Linked DNA regions of Homo sapiens: region 1 is linked to region 2. Evidence: promoter capture Hi-C in 16 types of primary human blood cells and fetal thymus (Javierre and others, 2016). All regions are on one chromosome and are shown on one strand. Each heading gives the region's core, a stretch centred on a gene start or on the middle of the fragment in contact. The rest is flanking DNA. Distances are from core to core; before and after follow the strand shown.

Region 1 (4,100 bases), core at 1,402-3,901, 140 kb before region 2:
TACTCCTTCAGGACTCAGGTCAGCCGTCATCTCCTGAGATCCTTAGCTGGTTTCCCTGTTGCCCCCGGAAGTTTTGTGCAGATCACTGTGTCACTATGTTTAAAGTAGGGTCTATTTATATCTTTCTTCCCCATCAGATCATGAGCTGCCGTAGGACGGGAATTGAGTGGCATTCATTTTTGGGAAATCAATTCTTCTCTCCCATGTGCATCTTAGGAACATGTCACACCCTGAGTTAGACAGGACATATTCAGCAAACCACTGGACTCTAGATGCCACAGCTTTTCTTCCTTCCTCTCTCTCCCTTCCCTCTCTCCACCTCACTGTGTGTGCTGGGAGAGGGAGTCAAACTGGGGAGCCATCTGGGGTTTCTCTCCAGCCCACCCACACTCCCTTTTTTTGTCTCCACAAAGAAGTCCTATTCTCATTCCCATCTTTTTCTTTAAATCAGCTCACAAAGGCAGATCAGGAAGAATTTGAATGTGCATTAAAACAGAATCCAAATAATTAGCAATAGAAACACAATTCCCAGGGCGGTGAGCAAGCAGAATACAAATGCCTAACCTGCACTCACTCTCTGAAAAGGAGGAGAGATGCAGGCATTGCTTGCTGGAGTTGGTTGCTCTTCCAATTAGAACTGACCTAATGACTCCTTCTAAGTAAAAAAAGGAAACAAACAAAATAAATCAAAAACAAAAAAACAAATTGGATGTTTGTATTAAGACAGGTCGAACTTTTTGATTCTTTGCATGTTTATTTTTCAGTGCTTTTGCAAAATATTTGTGGAACAAATAATAGGTGAAGTTAAAGTTGTTGACACAGGTTTCCAAAAAGGATTTAATGAGATGGTAGTCAAACCTAGCTGCTGATAACAACAATACAGCCGAATCACCATCTTTCACTCCACAATTATTTTATGAGAGTCTATTAGTCATACTGTGTTATGTAAAGAAGCATAACATGTGGTCCTTTCTGTCAAGAGACTTGGAAACCAGGGGCCTAAGGGAAATGCACATGAATCCAAAGCTAAGCAAATTGAAGCATGTGAAACAAGAGTTGTTTAAAAGGTAGAACTCAAATGTCAAGTGAGCGATACAGATAGTAATCATTTTGAGACCTGAGAAGGGAGTGGTGCTCTGTGCCAAGGAGTTAGTAGACAAGGCATGGAGGTAGGAATGCTCACAGTCTGTTCTTGGGATGTTGGCTTAAATGGTCTAATTAGGAGGGCTTCGGTTTGAGGAAATGAGGTTGGAAAAACCTGTGGAGGCCGATTTGAGGATAAGAAGTTAGTTTTCCTCTGTTAGGCCACTGGTTCTCAAATTTGACTGCCATCTAGAATTACTAGAGAAACTTAAAAAATATGAATGGATGCCTGGGTCCTATACCTAGAGATTCTGATTTAATTGGCCTTGGAAAACCAAAGGCTTTTAGATTTTTCCAGGTGATTCTAAATATGTTGTCAGGTGAATTCCACTAGGCCATAGTGGCTTTCAACCCAATTGAATATTAGAATCAAGTGGGGGAACTTTTAAGATAATATGAAAGACAATCCACAGAATGAGAGAAAACATTTACAAATCACATATCTGATAAGAAACTTGTATCAAGGCTGAGGCAGGCAGATCATCTGAGGTCAGGAGTTTGAGACCAGCCTGGCCCACATGGAGAAACCCCATCTCTACTAAAAATATAAAAATTAGCTGGGGGTGGTGGTGGTCACCTCCAATTCCAGCTACTCGGGAGGCTGAGGCAGGAGGATTGCTTGATTCTGGGTGGCAGAGGCTGCAGTGAGCCAAGATCATGCCACTGCACTCCAGCCTGGGTGACAGAGTGAGACTCTGTAAAAATAAAAAAAAAAAAGTATAAAAAATGCATACAGAACTCCAATAATTCAATAATAAAAAGATAAATAGCCTAACCAGTTAATAAATGGGCAAATGATCTGAATAGAGAGTTCTCTAAAAAGAATAGACCAATGGCTAATAAGCACATGAAAAGATGCTTAGCATCATTAGTTATTAGAGAAATAGCAAATCAAACCATGATGAGATATCACTTCACGTCCACCAGGATGGCTATAATAGAAAAGATGAACAATAACAAGTGTCGGCAAGGGTGAGGATAAATTGGAGCCCTCATTCACTGCTGGTGAGAATGTACAATGGTGCAGTTGCTTTGGCAACAGTTTGACGATTCCTCAAAAAGTTAAACATAGAGTTACCATATGACCCAGCAATTTTACTGCTGGCAAATACCTAAGAGAGTTGAAAACATACGTCCACACAAAAATCTGTATGCAAATGCTCATAGTAGCATTATTCATAATAGCCAAAAAGTGATGAATAGAAAAACAAAATGTAGTATAGCCATACAATGGAATATTATTTGGCCATGAAGAGTGAAGTTCTGGTGCATGCAACAACATGGATGAAACTTGAAACATGGATGAAACTTGAAAACATTATGCTAAGTGAAAGAAACGAGACACAAAAAGCCACATATCGTATGATTCTACTTATAAAAAAAGTCCAGAATAGGCAAATTCATAGGGCCAAAGTAGATCAGTGGTTTCCAGGGATTTAAGGGAGGGAGGAAGCAGGGTGATGGTAAATGGGTATGGTATTTCTTTATGGAGTAATGAAAATGTTCTGGAATCAGATAGTGGTGATTCATTCATAACTTTGTGAATATACTAAAAAATCTCTGAATTTTACACTTTAAAACAGCAAACTTTATAGTACCTGAATTATATCTCAATAAAGTTATTATCTAAAATAAAGAAAAAAAACTTAGTATCAATCCTTCCCCCCAGCCTAGACCAATTAAATCAGAATTTCCGGAAGTGGGAGGACTTGGGCACAGATATTTTTTCATTTTAAAGTTCTTGATATAAAGCCAGCAATGATTTTTTAAAAAGAATTTTGTAGAGATGGGTTCTTTCTATGTTGCCCAGGCTGGTCTTGAACTCCTGGGCTCAAGCATTCATCCCGCCTTGGCCTCCCAAAGTGCTAGGATCACAAAGGTGTGAGCCATCATCCCCAGCCAGCATTATTGATTATATAGGAGACAAAAAGCTACTATTAATTTAGTTCTATGCCATTTCCTTCTTACCAAAACCAAAACAAAACACCTGTGTATATGAATTCAAATTCAGTTAAATTGTAAATTTCATTTAAAAATGAATCTGATTTTATTTGGCTCTTCAGTGTGGGTATACGGGATGTTGCTTCAAATAAACTTAAAAGAAATGCAAGTAGGTAAATAATTATTAACATACCCCAAAACAAGAGCAAAAAAATGCTTTTGTTTGCATTGAAATTTGAATCAAAGACACAAAGTGGTTTGTTGTTTTAGAAAAATTCTTGAGGGCCAGGCGCAGTGGCTCACACCTGTAATCCCAGCACTTTGGGAGGCCGAGGCGGTGGATCACCTGAGGTTGGGAGTTCGAGACAAGCCTGACCAACATGGAGAAACCCCGTCTCTACTAAAAATAGAAAATTAGCCGGGCATGGTGGTGCATACCTGTTAATCCCAGCTACTCGGGAGGCTGAGGCAGGAGAATCACCTGAACCCAGAGGGCGGAGGTTGCAGTCAGCTGAGATCGCACCATTGCACTCCAGCCTGGGCAACAAGAGCGAAACTCCGTCTCCAGAAAAAAAAAAAAAAAGAAAAATTTTGGAAGGTGTCTTGGTTGCAAAGTTGATTCCCAGTTTCTCAGTGCTTCAGTGGTCTATTTCTCAGGTGGTCATAGCCAACTTGGGTTTTAGTTCTGGCTTTGCTCACCATTTGTTTGGTGACTTCAGACAAACCAGCTAATGTTTCTAGGCCTTATACAATCATTAGAAAAGAAAAAAAAAAAGAAATAATATTGTCCTGTGCCAACAATGAGGATACCATGGGAAATGAGATCAATGTGTTCTCTTCACTTATGGAGTTGATAAACTAGTTTCAGGTTCTTTGCTTTTAAAGATTGAACTAAATGCTCTCCAGATTCTTTGATCTTTTATTGGGATAGCAGTAAAGGTAGATGATGGACCAGAGAGATAACTCCCCTCTGGAGTCTTTCACCTTTCATGATATAAGGGAATAGATCTATGAAT
Region 2 (4,097 bases), core at 556-3,055:
ACCTTCTGCTCATCCCCAGACAAGCTTTGTCCTGTGACCATAATGAACTCTTCATGCCGTTTCCAACTTTAGCCCATGTTATTCTTCTTGTCTGAATATCCACCCTTTTCTCTGTTCTCAATAATAAGTTCAGGCTTTTCGTCTTCTGAGAAGCCCTTTCTGACTTCCACAGGCTGAACCACTGGCTTCTGCTCCTCTACATAATACTTCAATTCCAGCATTGATCTCACTCTATCATGATCATGGGTTTAGCTGTCTGTCCCTGCCACTGCTGTGTGTTCCTCTTGAGGGCAGGAACATTTGTTTTTCACTTTTTAAAAAACCTCTGTTGCCCAGTCTGGCATTAGGAAGTGCCCATTAGGTTGTTATTGCTTGTTGGCGCTTGAGCTGGGGCTTGAAGGTTTCTATAATGTGTAGCAGTGTATAGAAAACAGGCAGGTCAGAAAAGGCTTCTGTGCATCACACCAACATGGCACATGTATACATATGTAACAAATCTGCATGTTGTGCACATGTACCCTAAAACTTAAAGTATAATAATAATAAAATTTTAAAAAAAAAAAGAAGAGGCTTCCTGGAGGAGATGACAGCTGAGCTAAGTCCTGGAGGATGAGAAGGAGTATAAAATAAGATAATAGGAGAAAAAAGGCAGTAGGAACAGCATGGGTAAAGGTGATGAGGCCTGAAAGAGGCACGTGGAAGGAAAGACAAATGCAGGAAGGGGGAATGGGAGGGAATGCTGGGGTACAGGCCAAAGAGGGAGGCATTTGGTGAGTATTCTGCAGAGTCTCCTCTGCTGTGCTGAGGTGTGGACAATGGGAAACCATGGACGGACTGGAGTAGGCAAATGTCATATTCCCTGTTACAACTGTCTGTTTGCATGTCAGCCTTCTAGAAGCCCCTTAAGGTATCAACTATGTTTTTGTTTTGTCATCATTCAATCCTAAGTGCACAGAATTCCGGGCATATTACAGGTTCCCCATGAATGTTTCTTTCTTTATTAAAATGTATGAAAACTCTCCAGATTTAAGGAAGGTCCTCAATGTTTCAAATTCTTTTTGTTAGATCATTGGTCCTGTCTACAGCTGTCACAAATTTAAGGACTCTGGTTATATTTAATCTTCACTTTTGAATTTTCTGCTTGAAAAATTTGTATTAGAAAAAAAAGTCTATCCTTTTATGGACGGCTCTAATCTCTTGAATCATTTGGGTTGGCTTTTCTTTGGACCTTCTTCAACTCTGTTTTGTCTCTGTTGAGTTAAGGCTTTTAAGAACACCTGAATTCTTTCCTTCTGCAAAACCAGAGGCAGCTTCTTTTCCGCCTATTTTCAGTTTATTTCTTGTGATTTTAGTTTTTTTCTCTTAACCAAATGCTAAATGGATTTAGGAGAAATAAACTTATTTGTAAAGCTGTCAAGGGACCATTAGAAGGATGGTGCTTCACAGATAGAATACAGTTTTTATTAATGATGCCTAGACAAATCCTGCCATTAGCCCAAGGGCTCAGAAAGTTAGCAGCCTAGTAGTTTTGGAGTTGTCAATGAAATGAATTGGACTGGATGGTTAAGGATGCCCAGAAGATTGAATAAAATTGGGATTTAGGAGGACCCTTGTACTCCAGGAAATTCTCCAAGTCTCCACTTAGTTATCCAGATCCTCAAAGTGAACATGAAGCTTCAGTTTCAAATTGAATACATTTTCCATCCATGGATTGGCTTGTTTTGTTCAGTTGAGTGCTTGAGGTTGTCTTTTCGACGTAACAGCTAAACCCACGGCTTCCTTTCTCGTAAAACCAAAACAAAAAGGCTTTCTATTCAAGTGCCTTCTGTGTGTGCACATGTGTAATACATATCTGGGATCAAAGCTATCTATATAAAGTCCTTGATTCTGTGTGGGTTCAAACACATTTCAAAGCTTCAGGATCCTGAAAGGTTTTGCTCTACTTCCTGAAGACCTGAACACCGCTCCCATAAAGCCATGGCTTGCCTTGGATTTCAGCGGCACAAGGCTCAGCTGAACCTGGCTACCAGGACCTGGCCCTGCACTCTCCTGTTTTTTCTTCTCTTCATCCCTGTCTTCTGCAAAGGTGAGTGAGACTTTTGGAGCATGAAGATGGAGGAGGTGTTTCTCCTACCTGGGTTTCATTTGTTTCAGCAGTCAAAGGCAGTGATTTATAGCAAAGCCAGAAGTTAAAGGTAAAACTCCAATCTGGCTTGGCTGGCTCTGTATTCCAGGGCCAGCAGGGAGCAGTTGGGCGGCAGCAAATAAGGCAAAGAGATAGCTCAGAACAGAGCGCCAGGTATTTAGTAGGGGCTTCATGAATGCATGTGAGTTGGTTTAGTAGAGAGACACAGGCAATTTCAGACCCTTCTATGAGACTGGAAGTGATTTAAGAGGGAAAGGATAGCCATAGTCCTGAATACATTTGAGCTGGGTTTCAGGATGAGCTCACAAGTTCCTTTAAAAAAAATTGACTTAAGCAAATCCTGGGAAGAGTTTTTTTGCTATACAATTCAAGGTTTTAAGGTCCTCGGATTCATATACTTTATAAATGAATTAGCCAGCTTGTTTAAAATGTAGGGAAATTGTGGGAAGAATGCCTTCTTTACTTAATTCAAGGTTTTAAGGTTCTCTTAATCAATTCTACTAGCTAATTAGCCAATTATTTAAAAATAAAAGTTTGAAATTGCCAAAAAAAAAAGACAAGGAAAAGGAAAGAAAGAAAGCCACCAGTCTGTTTGGCATACAATACTTAATTGTTGCCTGACCTACGTGTGGGTTTCAGATGCAGATCCTCAGTTTTCAGCTCTTCAGAGACTGACACCAGGTTTGTTACACGGCTTAAAATGATGAGTATATCCATTGAATCTCAACCTTATCTCTCTCTAGACCTTCTTGGTTAAGAAACCATGTAGTTTGTATGAAGTAGGTACTCAAAAGATATTTGATGATTTAATTTTTACTGGAGAAGAAATATTCATATATGTTTTCTTATTTTTACATGTTTTAAATATGTAAAGATTAAATAAACACTCTTAGAAGTATTTAAATTTCCTAAAGTAAATTTATCTCAACCAGTAACAGGACCCTCCCAATACTGGAAAGTTGAGTGTGACCGCATTTAGTGGTGATGAGTGTGAGCTTGCTTGGGGAGAGGGCAGGACATTTAGGATTTCTTAAGCTTAGAGTCAATACAATAAAGATTATTGAGTGCTCACTTGGGTGGGCTATAATCACTGCTCACAGGAGTTCATGAACCACAAGTAAAAGAGTGAGGAGATATGATTAGCTCACAAATAACTTTAATACAGAGCAGAAAGTAATGAACTACTGCAATGGAGTTATCACAGTGCTAAGGATGCTCAGAGGGCATCTCTGATAGGCAGAGGTGAGGGTTAGGGAAGGAAGCTGTAGTCTAGCTAGCTAGAGCTGCTGGAATAGACATGACAATGGCTGCTGCCAAACTGTTTTCTCTTCTGAGGACAGATGTCCCGTGCAAGTGGCTTGGTGGAAGGGACTAGTGTCTCTAATATAGGGTGATTTATAAGCAGGAAAGTGTGTCCTAGAAATTCAGACCAGAGTGATAGATTGGAATTGGATCATGGGGGACTCATTGAATGTTATTTATTGTATTTGTTTTTGCGATCAGTGTTAGTAAAGTGTCAAAGGGATTGAGCAGATGAGTGACATCATGCAACACAAGTTTTGAGTTTCACTTGTCAGACTGACTGGAGAGGGGCCTGGTTAGTTACAGGAAGGTAATTTGGCATGCAGCCACTATTTTTGAGTTGATGCAAGCCTCTCTGTATGGAGAGCTGGTCTCCTTTATCCTGTGGGAAAAGAGAACAAAGGAGCATGGGAGTGTTCAAGGGAAGGAGAAATAAAGGGCAGAGAGGCAGCGGTGGTGTCAGGGGAAGCCCACAGGAGTTAACAGCAGGGTTGCCTCAACCTAGAGAGGAAGCGACCTGGTGCCCTCGGCTCTGTGGCTTCCTTCATCTAACAACATCTTCCACTCTACAACAATGCCAGGGAAGGCGGAGGCTGGTACAGTGCATCAAGACACAGCTACTCCTGGGTGACAGAGGTTCAGGGCCAGC

The links. The method cuts DNA at HindIII sites, captures the fragments that hold promoters and counts their contacts. A CHiCAGO score of 5 or more calls a contact.
Region 1: a contact is called between a fragment that was not itself captured here and the fragment with the promoter of CTLA4 in region 2, in 1 of 17 cell types (total CD4 T cells). The highest score is 5.3, in total CD4 T cells.

The regions. Positions count from the first base shown.
Region 1 is chr2:203,721,642-203,725,741 of GRCh38, forward strand. The region is part of intron 1 of CD28 (CD28 molecule); the gene reads left to right. Among named protein-coding and RNA genes, the nearest start is that of CD28, 17 kb to the left of the region's middle. The HindIII fragment of the contact is 8,566 bases long and covers 1-4,100 here.
Region 2 is chr2:203,865,966-203,870,062 of GRCh38, forward strand. CTLA4 (cytotoxic T-lymphocyte associated protein 4) reads left to right here and starts at 1,806. Exons shown (of 4, transcript NM_005214.5): 1 at 1,806-2,086. The coding sequence starts at 1,978. The HindIII fragment of the contact is 240 bases long and covers 1,673-1,912 here.